2 separate regions of the Homo sapiens genome follow, and region 2 is linked to region 1. The links are contacts of gene promoters, found by promoter capture Hi-C in blood cells and fetal thymus (Javierre and others, 2016). All regions are on one chromosome and are shown on one strand. The core of a region is centred on a gene start or on the middle of the fragment in contact, and the rest is flanking DNA. Distances in the headings are between cores, read along the strand shown. Region 1 holds the start of PJA2 (praja ring finger ubiquitin ligase 2). Region 2 holds the start of STARD4-AS1 (STARD4 antisense RNA 1).

Region 1 (4,952 bases), core at 354-2,853:
ATTTATAGTACTTTTATAAAGTCTCCTTCTTAAAGAAATTAAAGAAAATATACATTTATTTAAAGAAAAAAGGACAGTGAGTAGTATACACAGATACAGTATGAAAAAGGTTGAAATTTGGGAATCCCTGCCTTCTAGAACAGGTTAATGTATCCAGTTGGGCCAATCTGGAACACCCTAAAGGGAAACTAGGGAAATGTAATTAAAATATGAATTTTGTTTTTTTTCAAAGAGGTACTTGGATGGTTAAAGTCAGAACTCCTATAGCAACACGTGTGAAGGCAGAGTAATATCAAGCAAGGAATGGTTTTTTGGTAAGAAACGTACTACAGGAGTGGGCTGGGATTCAGATTGGATTTCACAAAATGTCTGGCAAATTCTCATAAACCTAAATTTCTACAGTAAATTTTGGGTAATTTATTTCCATCAACAGCAAAAAAAAATTAGTCTCAGTTCACTGGCAAGAGAGTTCGCTGTTGTTAAGGGGACAGCACAAGAAGTGGGGCTCTTAATTCGCGGGGGAGGGGTGGCGATGAATATATCCTGGGCATCAGGCGACGGGTCGGGGGTGGGGAATAAGAGAAGACAGAGGGACTGTAATCAGATAAGCGGACACGTTTCAAGATGAATAAAGGGAATATGTGCGGAACGAAGAAACAGTTTTGTATCACTGACATAATTAACTAAACTGTTACCCAGGTTTAAATTAAGCAAGGTGTCCGGGGACTGCAGCTGTTGTATTTATTTTGGTTGCATGTGATGGGAGCTGTTACTTCCCGGCTTGACAAACAGCCTCAAGATGCAAGCTGGGAGGCTGTGGTCAGCCCAAGGCTATACAGAGGAAAGGCAGGCCTCCTCTGAACCCCGCCCCAGCAGAATAAGAAGCGAGGGGCAAGGGTCAGCGCGGAGAGGGAGGGTGGAAAGCGCCATATAGTGCCCAGGGTCAGGGTGGGTAAACAAGCCTTTCTTCGTGTCATTTTTTTTTTTTGTCTCACCGATATCTGCATTGTAACTGAACTTTATGCCAGGAGACCTTAACCTTGTTAATCAGGTTTCCAGTCGAATCAGGATCGATTTTAATGCCTCCATTTTGGTTGTTGCTGTTGGAATTTCCGAAAAAGCCTAACTGCGCCAGTCTTTCTGTTAGTTCTCCACACCCCCTTCCCTTTCCGAGACCCCGCCCTTTTCTCTCAGCCCAAACCACAAAAGGCCGCGCAGTTTTAGCTCCTACACGGTGCTCCGCCCCCTCCCCAAACGTCGCAGTACTGCAGGGAAAGGAGGTGGGCTCGGCTGGGGCGGGGGACTGAGTCGGCTTCGTCTTTCCGCTCTTCAGCCAATTGGTGAACTCCCCCTGAGGGAGATGGGGGAGCAGGCTGTAGAGAAGGTCCAAGTATTTTTCCCTTTTTCTGCCACGTCCCAACCATTGACGTGAGCCCACTCCTCAGGTTCTGATTGGGCGTATGCATTGTCCCCCAGCAGAGACCCTGTAAGCTGACTGGTCATCTCTGCTATGGGGGAGGGGCTTGCGTACTCTCCTCCTTCGCCTCCACCGCGGCGCAAGGGGCGGGACTCACCGCCACCGCCTCTGCTTCCGCCGCCGCCACCGCCGCCGCCGCCGCCACAGCCGCCAGCCGCTTCGCGTTCGGCGGGGGAGGAGTTGGAGGCGGAGAAGAAGGCGGTGGTGGCGGGTGGAGGTTCGAGCGCTGTTCTCGCTCCGGAGCCGCTGCACATTTCGGTGAGGGTTTTTTTTTTTTTTTTTCAGTCTGGCTTGTTCCGCTGTCGGGAGTGTGGGGGTCGGGGCGAGGAAATTGCTGCGTTCAGCTCCTCAGTTTCTCTGTCTCTAGCTTCGGAAGGAGCGGGGCTTGTCCCTGGCCTGCTGCGCCGGCCATGGTGGGTGGGGTTGATGGCTGTGGGAGGCCTTCTTCGCCTCCTGGGCCCTGTCCAGCCCGGACCCGGGCCGCGCTCCTATCCGGGACGGTCGCGCCCGCCGCCCCCCGACAGATGACATTGGTTGGTATCGGGGTCTTCGCTGCCGCTCTTTACTGCTGCCTCTTCTGCTGTCCTTGGTGACTTGGCCAAGGAGCCCGCTGGCTTTCCCCTACACTCGCCACTGTACAAGAGTTTGCCCCCCAACCAACACCTCACACCCACCTTCTGCGGTTTCCCGTCACCCCGCGTAGAGCGGAACCATCTTACGCCACAGGCCTGCAGCACCCCTCCCCCGAGGAGCCTTCTGTTGCCGTCGTTTTGCTGGGCGTCTGCATTTTCCCCGATTGTCAGTGAGGCTCGGCACGCAGACACCCCGCTCGAGCCGCAGCAGTCGCTCTACTCCCGGGATCAGCACCTTTCCGCCAGGGCTGCTCTCAGTTAGCGATGTCAGGCCAGAGCTCCTCTTGCAGATGCACCTTTAATTTGGCCTCCCTCAGATGACTGGTAATCATTTTGCGCACATTCAAAATGGTGAGGTTAAAGACGCTCAGACCAAGTTGAAGCAAAGGGGAGGTGGTAAATAGTCGTTTTGCAGGGAGGAGAGTAATCTGAGAGTTCCTTCTCCGGACATTAAAAAAAAAAAAATTTACATCCGCATAGGCGCTTCTTTTGAGTCTGCTGGTTCTGTGAAGTTTAAAATTTTCATTGCAGGCTTAATGTATTCTGTTTTATCATGAAATATTTGGTCACATTTCTTTAAAATGGCAGTCACCTTTGCTGAAGGCTACGGATCATTTGAAGTGTATGTGAATAAACCTGAGGATAACAGTAATAAACGTTTAAACTGTATTTTTCAGTGTTGTAATTGTCTTTTGGGGTTCATGTCATTTTTATATGAGATGACCACTTAATTTTAAAAATTCATTGCAGACATGCAAGTTTGATGTACACTTCAACAATATAAATAACGGACTGTTAGGTAAAATTTAAATATTTCTTTTCATCCCCCAGTCCCACTCCAGTGTAAAGTTGACAGTTTAGTGTTCATTTTTCAAAATCTTGCAAATGCACTTCTAGACACATACAAGTACACGTAAAGTTTTTTTTTTTGAGGGAGGCTATACCATATACCAAACATGTTTGCATACCGCTTGCTTATTGACTTAATTACATATGTTGGACATTTTTACTTTTTACATATAGGTCTCCCTAATACTTTTTAAAAGGCTAACTGGTATCTCGTGAGTTTGAATGGGCTATAATTTATTCTATTCCCTTTTTGAAAGACATTTAATTGCAGTTTCTTTTTGCTATTACAAATGATGATTTATAATGAAAATAACTTTCTAATTTATTGATCGATGTTTAATTACAAATTTTAATTCATCCTTGATTTTAAAAAATTAAACAGTATGGAAGAATGTAAGGTAAAAATTACCGCTTCCACTTCTAGTCCTGCTTGCATCTTGATTGTCAGCCACTGTTAACAATTCAGTAAACTTCCTCTATGTGTGATTATTTCTGGAGCATGGGTTCCTAGAAGTGAAGTTGCTCAGTTAAAAGATTATGCATATTTTAAATTTTGGTAACCCTTTCTCCCTCTTTATTACTCTTGTTGAAAATATTCTTGAATGTTTCTTATGCATTTCTTCTTCTAGGTAAACTTTAGACTGAACTAAAAATCCTTAGCTATTTTGAATAAGGTTATATTGAAATTTTAGATTAATTTGGAGACAACTGATCTTTATAGTATTGAGTCTCTCTCCTCAGAAATGTGGCCTCTCCATTTTATTCACATCTTGTTTTATACTGTTAGGGAAATTTTTATAGTTTTTCTTTTTTTTCTTCATACGTATAACATTCCTTCCTGGTATTCCTATTTTATGGTTTGATTCGTGTGGTGGATGGAAACTTTCAGTAACATTTCTCTCTCTCTGTTTTCTCTGGTTATAGCAAAACTTTTGAGTTTTCTATCATGTATCAGATTATTTTATTGAGTTGATTATCAGGAGATATTCACAGTTTTGTGGTTTCCTTTTCAGTTTTTATAACTTATGTGTTTTTCTCATTGCTTTTGCAATTATACATCTTATAAAATGTTGAGCACTGGTAGATTAAAAACTAATAGCACTGATAGCTAACAACAAACATGGCATTGTTTCTGACTTTAAGGGGGAATGCTTCTAATGTTTTAGCATTAATTATGATGTTTGGTGAAGCTTTCTGGTAAAGCCGCTGATATTAAAATATTTCCTTCTAGTCTTGGCTTTCCAAGATGCTTATGTTGTTGTTTTTGACATTTTTAAAAACCATAAATGAGTTTTCTTATATATATTTTTTTGACATCTTTTGAGGTGGGTATATGTGGGCATCACCAGTATTCCCTGGTTTATATTTTCCTGAGAGAGCACCCTCTTAGAAAATCAACCTTATTGAGGATAACTTAGATACAGTAAAATGTACTTATTTGAAATGTACAGTGTATTTTGTTTTGACAAATATGTGCTCTGTGACCACCACCACAGTCAAGAGTGGAATATTTTCATACCACAATTAAGATATAGAATATTTTCATCTCCCCCAAAGTTCCCTTTTGCAGTCAATCACAATTTCACCCTCAGGACTAGGAAAGCACTTATCATCTTTTTCTTGCTATAAATTGGTATCATTTTGTCTAGAATTTCATGTAAGTGGAATGATGTAATACATACTCTTTTGTATCTGGCTTTTTCTCTTGGCATGTTTTTCAGGATTATCCATGTTTTTCTGTATTTAACGGGTTCTCATTTTATTGCTGAATAGAAGTCCTTGGTATTGATTTACTAGTTTGTTGACCATTCCACCTATTTACAGATACTTGGATTGTTTCCAGTTTGGGGCTGTTATTAATAAATAGCCTTCATTTGTTGAACATTCCTTTATTCAATGAACATTCATTTATTTTGAATTTTTGTGAACATCTTTTTTTTCTTGGTAAATACCTAGACATGGAACTTGTTGGGTTGTATGATACATGGATGTTT
Region 2 (5,002 bases), core at 328-2,827, 2.1 Mb before region 1:
GAATTAAGTAGGTACAACTTAATTACAAAGCACTTTTCCCCAACCATTTCAAATTATTTATCTACGTATTCATCCATCCATCCAAAGCACCTCAATAATTGGCCAATAATTCCTAAGTGAAAGGAGCTTTACAACACACGAAGAACTCTTCTATTATGTCACACGAAATTATAAATATAAATATAAAACAAATTATTTTACATATAAACGATGGAGGTAAAAAATAAATCGGCCAATAATAACTAGCAAGTAGTATTTGGTAATTCTTTTGGTGAGGCCGACTTAAAAATTTACGAAATATTATTTATTTTCATTGCAAGTCTATCAGAAATCACTAATGGTGTAGCACTGCATTCTTCCCTGCTTTTGGTTCTCAAACTACGTATCTTAGTAAACGCAATTTGCAGACAAACCAAGCCTCGCTAATCAGTGCATCATGGCTACTCTGGTAAAGGAAGAAATTCACTGTTTGCCAAGCATCCCATCAGATGGGTGACTTCACAGCCACTGGAAGAAATCTTTCTCATGTTCGAGTAGATGGAAACTCCAAAACTGTGCAGTTGCTAAATCCACTTGTCACACCTCCTCCTTTTCTCTGCTTCTAAGGTTGCCCTCTAAACTCTTTATCTGAGGATGGAAACACACACACGCACCCACACACACCCACACCCACACACACACAAACGTATTTGGCTAAAGGTCAATTCACATAGTGGCAGGGACTTTCGTTTATATGCATTTTCCTTCCCAGCTCTCTCAGTTCTGAGTCAGGCTAAGCAGGAGGCAGAGAGCTCGTCCTCCTCTGCATGGGCGCTTTTTCTTATTTGACTTTTAGTCCTGGGAGGAGTAGCGTAGTTGCGAGATACTAGGATATCCACAAGCGGGATGAATTTGGACCTTATCCCTCACTGTGATCCTTCACTTCGCCTTCTGTTTCAATTTCTCCCAGTCGGTTTACTGCTTGACAAAATTCTTTCACAATTAAGTGATCACAGGACAACCCAACCCAACCAATCCAAACCTGCAGGCAACCCCAGACATCCAGGGAACCCTGGCGCGGCTCGGGCCAGCCCACACCCACGCGGAATCATTCCATTTATCGGCCACCAATCAGCCCTCCACACGCTCCCGCGCCAGCCAATCCGAACAAGCGCACGTTGTTCCGGCCACCTCCTCTCAGCCCCCCCTCCCCGGAGCCCCCGGGATCGGGCCAGGGGGCGGGGCTGGGGGCTCGGCCCGCCTTGCCCTGAGGCGCTGGGTGCCTTCCAGTTGGCTGCGACCAGCGGTGACTTACAAGTTGGCTGCTGTCGCCTGCGCATCGGCGGGCCGGGAGGCTGAGCAGTACTGTTGAGAGCGGTGTGAGGTGCTTGGTAGCGCGCCGTAGCTGCTTCCACGTCCTTGCTTCACCTCAGGTAAAGGTAAGGAGAGCCACGGAGCCGCGGCAGGATTGGGGTGGCCCGTGTGGAGGGCGACTGTGGCGCCCGGGGCGTCCTGCCAGGTGCGTCTTCTGGACCTGCTCCAGACCATGGATCTGGGGAGCTCGCGGTGGACGTTGGGGATGGCGGGCCCCGGCGTCCGGGCGGGAGAGGACCTCACAGATGAAAGAGAAACCTGAGCCCCTGGGAGGGGAAGCGGCGAGCTGGAAGGATCCCAGGGCTTGCAACTCGCCCCTGCGCGCCGCTCACCTATTTAAGTACTTGGAATCCATTAGACCTCAGTGTCCTCAGCTGTTAAATGGGAGAGGGGCGGTGGTAATCCCGCTTGATTTGGGACAGTCCTGTTCTTTGGAGGTCACCGCGCTTCCTGGTTCTTAGGAGGTGCACAGACAGCGCAGGGGCAGCCGCGTCCCACCAGGCTTCGCGGAGGTGATGCCAAAGACAAGAGACAAAGTTTTCCCAGGGCTTACTGCCTTCCAAGGTCCCTGCTAAATGTATTAACTCAAATAATTTCTCACCAAATCAGTGTCATTGTTTTCCCGAATTTACACTTGAGAAAGATTACCTTAGATTTTTAGGTTCAGCAGCCAGGACAAAACTTGACAAATATTTGGTGGGCCCAGGTTTTTTATATGAAGTCTTTTCCAGCCTGTGATCAGCTTCCACAGTTTTACAAGAGAGAGCTTTAGGCTCTGAAGTCAGACGCCCTGGGTTGGAATTCTGGCTCCATCACTTATGAACTGTGTGATCTTGGACAAGTGACTCAACCTTCCTGTTGCTATTTTCCCTTTCTGTAAAACAGGGAAAATGTATAGACATTAAGCTACTATTCTCACTTATGGAAGACCTCAAGATATCTAAAGTATGCCCATTTACACCAATCCTAGAGCTTCTGAATAACTAAAATTCCTTTACCATAATGAAACACATTTTCTCAAGGAGGACTATTACTGTTGTGAGGATTAAATAAAATAAATGCAATGTAAAGCAGCCAGAAGGACTGACCATGTAGTAAGTGATCAATAAATGTTATTGTTATTTTTTAAAATCAAGTACAGAGCATTAGGTTTTTTTTTTAATCAAGTATTAGAGCATTAGGGGTTTGAACAGTAAGTTGGCTCACTATTCATATTGTAGAAATATACTTCCATGTTGCATTTCTTTAAATAGTGAGCTCCTGCCAGAGCCAGTCTCAAAAAATGAGAAGCTGCTGTACTTGTCTGAGTTAGAAAACTTAACAGTTCAACATTGATTGGAAATCAAGCATATGCTGAAATTTTTATGTTAGTTAGAAAATATAATTTAATTTACAAAGCTTTGGTTTGTATGACATTGGGGAAAGTCCATGGCATGTTAAACTGAAGCTGTTGACGGAAGTGAAAACCATATTAATCAAGTAATGCAAGGTTAGACCGTTCTGATACCTGCATTTCTTTAACAAGTGAATTCTGACCTAGTCGTACTACAAAAGTCCAAACAGATTTTTATGGCATTCACTTTACATTACAGGTTAAATGTTTTATTATGTTCCATATTTAAAATAGAACCTATGCCATCTCACTGTGACAGATATTTGAGAATAATTGGAGTTGGATTGGTCAAGACTATGGTGCTGATAGATGGCCTCAAGAAAAGTAACTTGAGACAGCTGCCCTCCCTATGATGGCAGCCACTATCACCACTAGTGATAGCTTCAAAAGCATGGGCATAGAAAACATGAACAAAAAGATTAAAGGAAAAACATGGAGGTGGACATTACTCAGCATTTGGCCATGGGACTGACAAGAGTATAAAATCTTTTATATGAACCTATTATATTCTGATAAGGTTAAGTGGTGCCTGTTCTCTCTGACGTGTAAATGTTAGAGTTGGATAATTTCCTGATATAAGGTCAAGATAAGGGAATAAAAGACTGAATTAGTAAAAGGAAGTTCAGAATGGGTTCAGAATGGCATTTAAAACATTTACCTGACATTCTCCACAGTTGGAGATTGCAGGAGGGCAAATTAGGTGTTTTCCTCTCAATTAATGTCAGTACCCTGTTATATTAGGAGAGAGAGCCAAGACCTTGATAACCCATCTCCCCCAACCCTCTTGGTTCTAGAATATATTAATATTTTGAGAAATGCTCAATTATGCCTGTTTACACAGAGGTAGCAGTTTTGATGGCAATGATTATTTCATTATGGACTTAATCTTGATGAAAATAATCCATGCAAGACTTAACTGTTTGGTTAAATACATTGCTGGACATATTTAATCAGAGAGAGCTTTCTGATTTTGTACTTCTTTCTCTTCCTTTCCTACCTCCCACTGCACCACTCTTAAAAAGGCTATTAATAGAATTTTTTAATGTTTTAGTTTTTGTTGTTGTTATTTCTGTTAAAGCTTAAGGGTGGAATAAGTCAATTTGAGAGTAAAATCTGAATTCCATCTGTTTCTGTAGTTCTAGGACCTGGTATATAATAGATGCTTGATAAATATTTAATAGTAGTCCTTCTTGAGAAATGGTGTTTCATTATGGTAAAGGAAGTTTTAGTTATTCAGAAGCTCTAGGATTGGCGTAAATGGGCATACTTTAGATATCTTGAGGTCTTCCATAAGTGAGAATGGTAGCTTATTGTCTATACATTTTTCCATTTTTTATTCACTGTGTTCCTACTGAGTGCTAGACGTAAGGAGAATTAATATTGAACAAGCCAGATTTCCTACCCCCCAAAGATTTTACAGTTAAACGGGAGAAGATAACAAGTGAATAATTACAGTACAGAGTTGCTGTCAGAAAATATTGGAGGGGGAACTAACCCAGGTTCAGGGGAATCCAGGAAAGATAAGTGGAAATTAGGTAATGAAAATATGCCACATTATAAAAGGGCCTGTAAGCTATAGTAAGGAGCTTGAACTTTATACTGATCAGTATGAATTACTAAGTCAAGTACCTTAAAGTTGCAGATTCTCATCTCTTCTAGGTAGCTAGCTTTCTAGGTAACTTTCCGTGCACTGGATTTGCCCAGTGATAATGTTTGCTTATGATAATAATAACTTTCTGTTTCACCTTTGATTTCTATCAAAAAGTTTTGCATAAATACTCTTATCTGCCAACCACAGGAACCTAGCAGGTGACCTTTGGGTTTAAAGAATATGTTTAATCATAGTGATCCCTGTAATAGATAAATTAAATCTCTTTTACAAGCCTTCTGCAAGAACTTCTGCTTGTTTGTGGCATACTCTTGAATAAAGTTATTGAACTGGCTATCAAGTTGACAGCCTCTTGAATGGAAATTAGGTATATTCTTGACTGAGAGACTTTTTGAATGAGCTCATCAACTTTTCATCCGTGGATTGGATCTATACTTATTATATATTTTGCATCACTTACATAGATCCTAAAAGTTATATTGAATTTTCTTTGTATACTTTCCCATGTTTCTACATAATTTTAGTATTTATAAATTTTAATGGCTTATATGCTCTAATTAGTGGTATTTAAATATTGGCTACAACCTTAATTTATTTCTGTCACTTTAATTTTTAGATCAGTTAGTTCTGATCTCTGGCTAGACAAC

What was found. Contacts are between HindIII fragments. The CHiCAGO score rates a contact against its expected background, and 5 or more counts as called.
Region 2: the fragment with the promoter of STARD4-AS1 here is called in contact with the fragment with the promoter of PJA2 in region 1 in 1 of 17 cell types (activated CD4 T cells); the score reaches 5.5 in activated CD4 T cells.

Annotation. Positions count from the first base shown.
Region 1 is chr5:109,406,625-109,411,576 of GRCh38, reverse strand. It overlaps PJA2 (praja ring finger ubiquitin ligase 2), which reads left to right and starts at 1,603. Exons shown (of 10, transcript NM_014819.5): 1 at 1,603-1,735. RefSeq lists enhancers at 969-1,148, 2,259-2,378, 2,419-2,518 and a silencer at 1,659-1,738. The HindIII fragment of the contact is 12,845 bases long and covers 1-4,150 here.
Region 2 is chr5:111,508,801-111,513,802 of GRCh38, reverse strand. It overlaps STARD4-AS1 (STARD4 antisense RNA 1), which reads right to left and starts at 1,577. Exons shown (of 7, transcript NR_040093.1): 1 at 1,295-1,577. STARD4 (StAR related lipid transfer domain containing 4) reads left to right here and starts at 1,268. Exons shown (of 6, transcript NM_139164.3): 1 at 1,268-1,418. RefSeq lists enhancers at 804-943, 1,424-1,633, 4,500-4,619 and a silencer at 1,024-1,393. The HindIII fragment of the contact is 3,364 bases long and covers 1-2,753 here.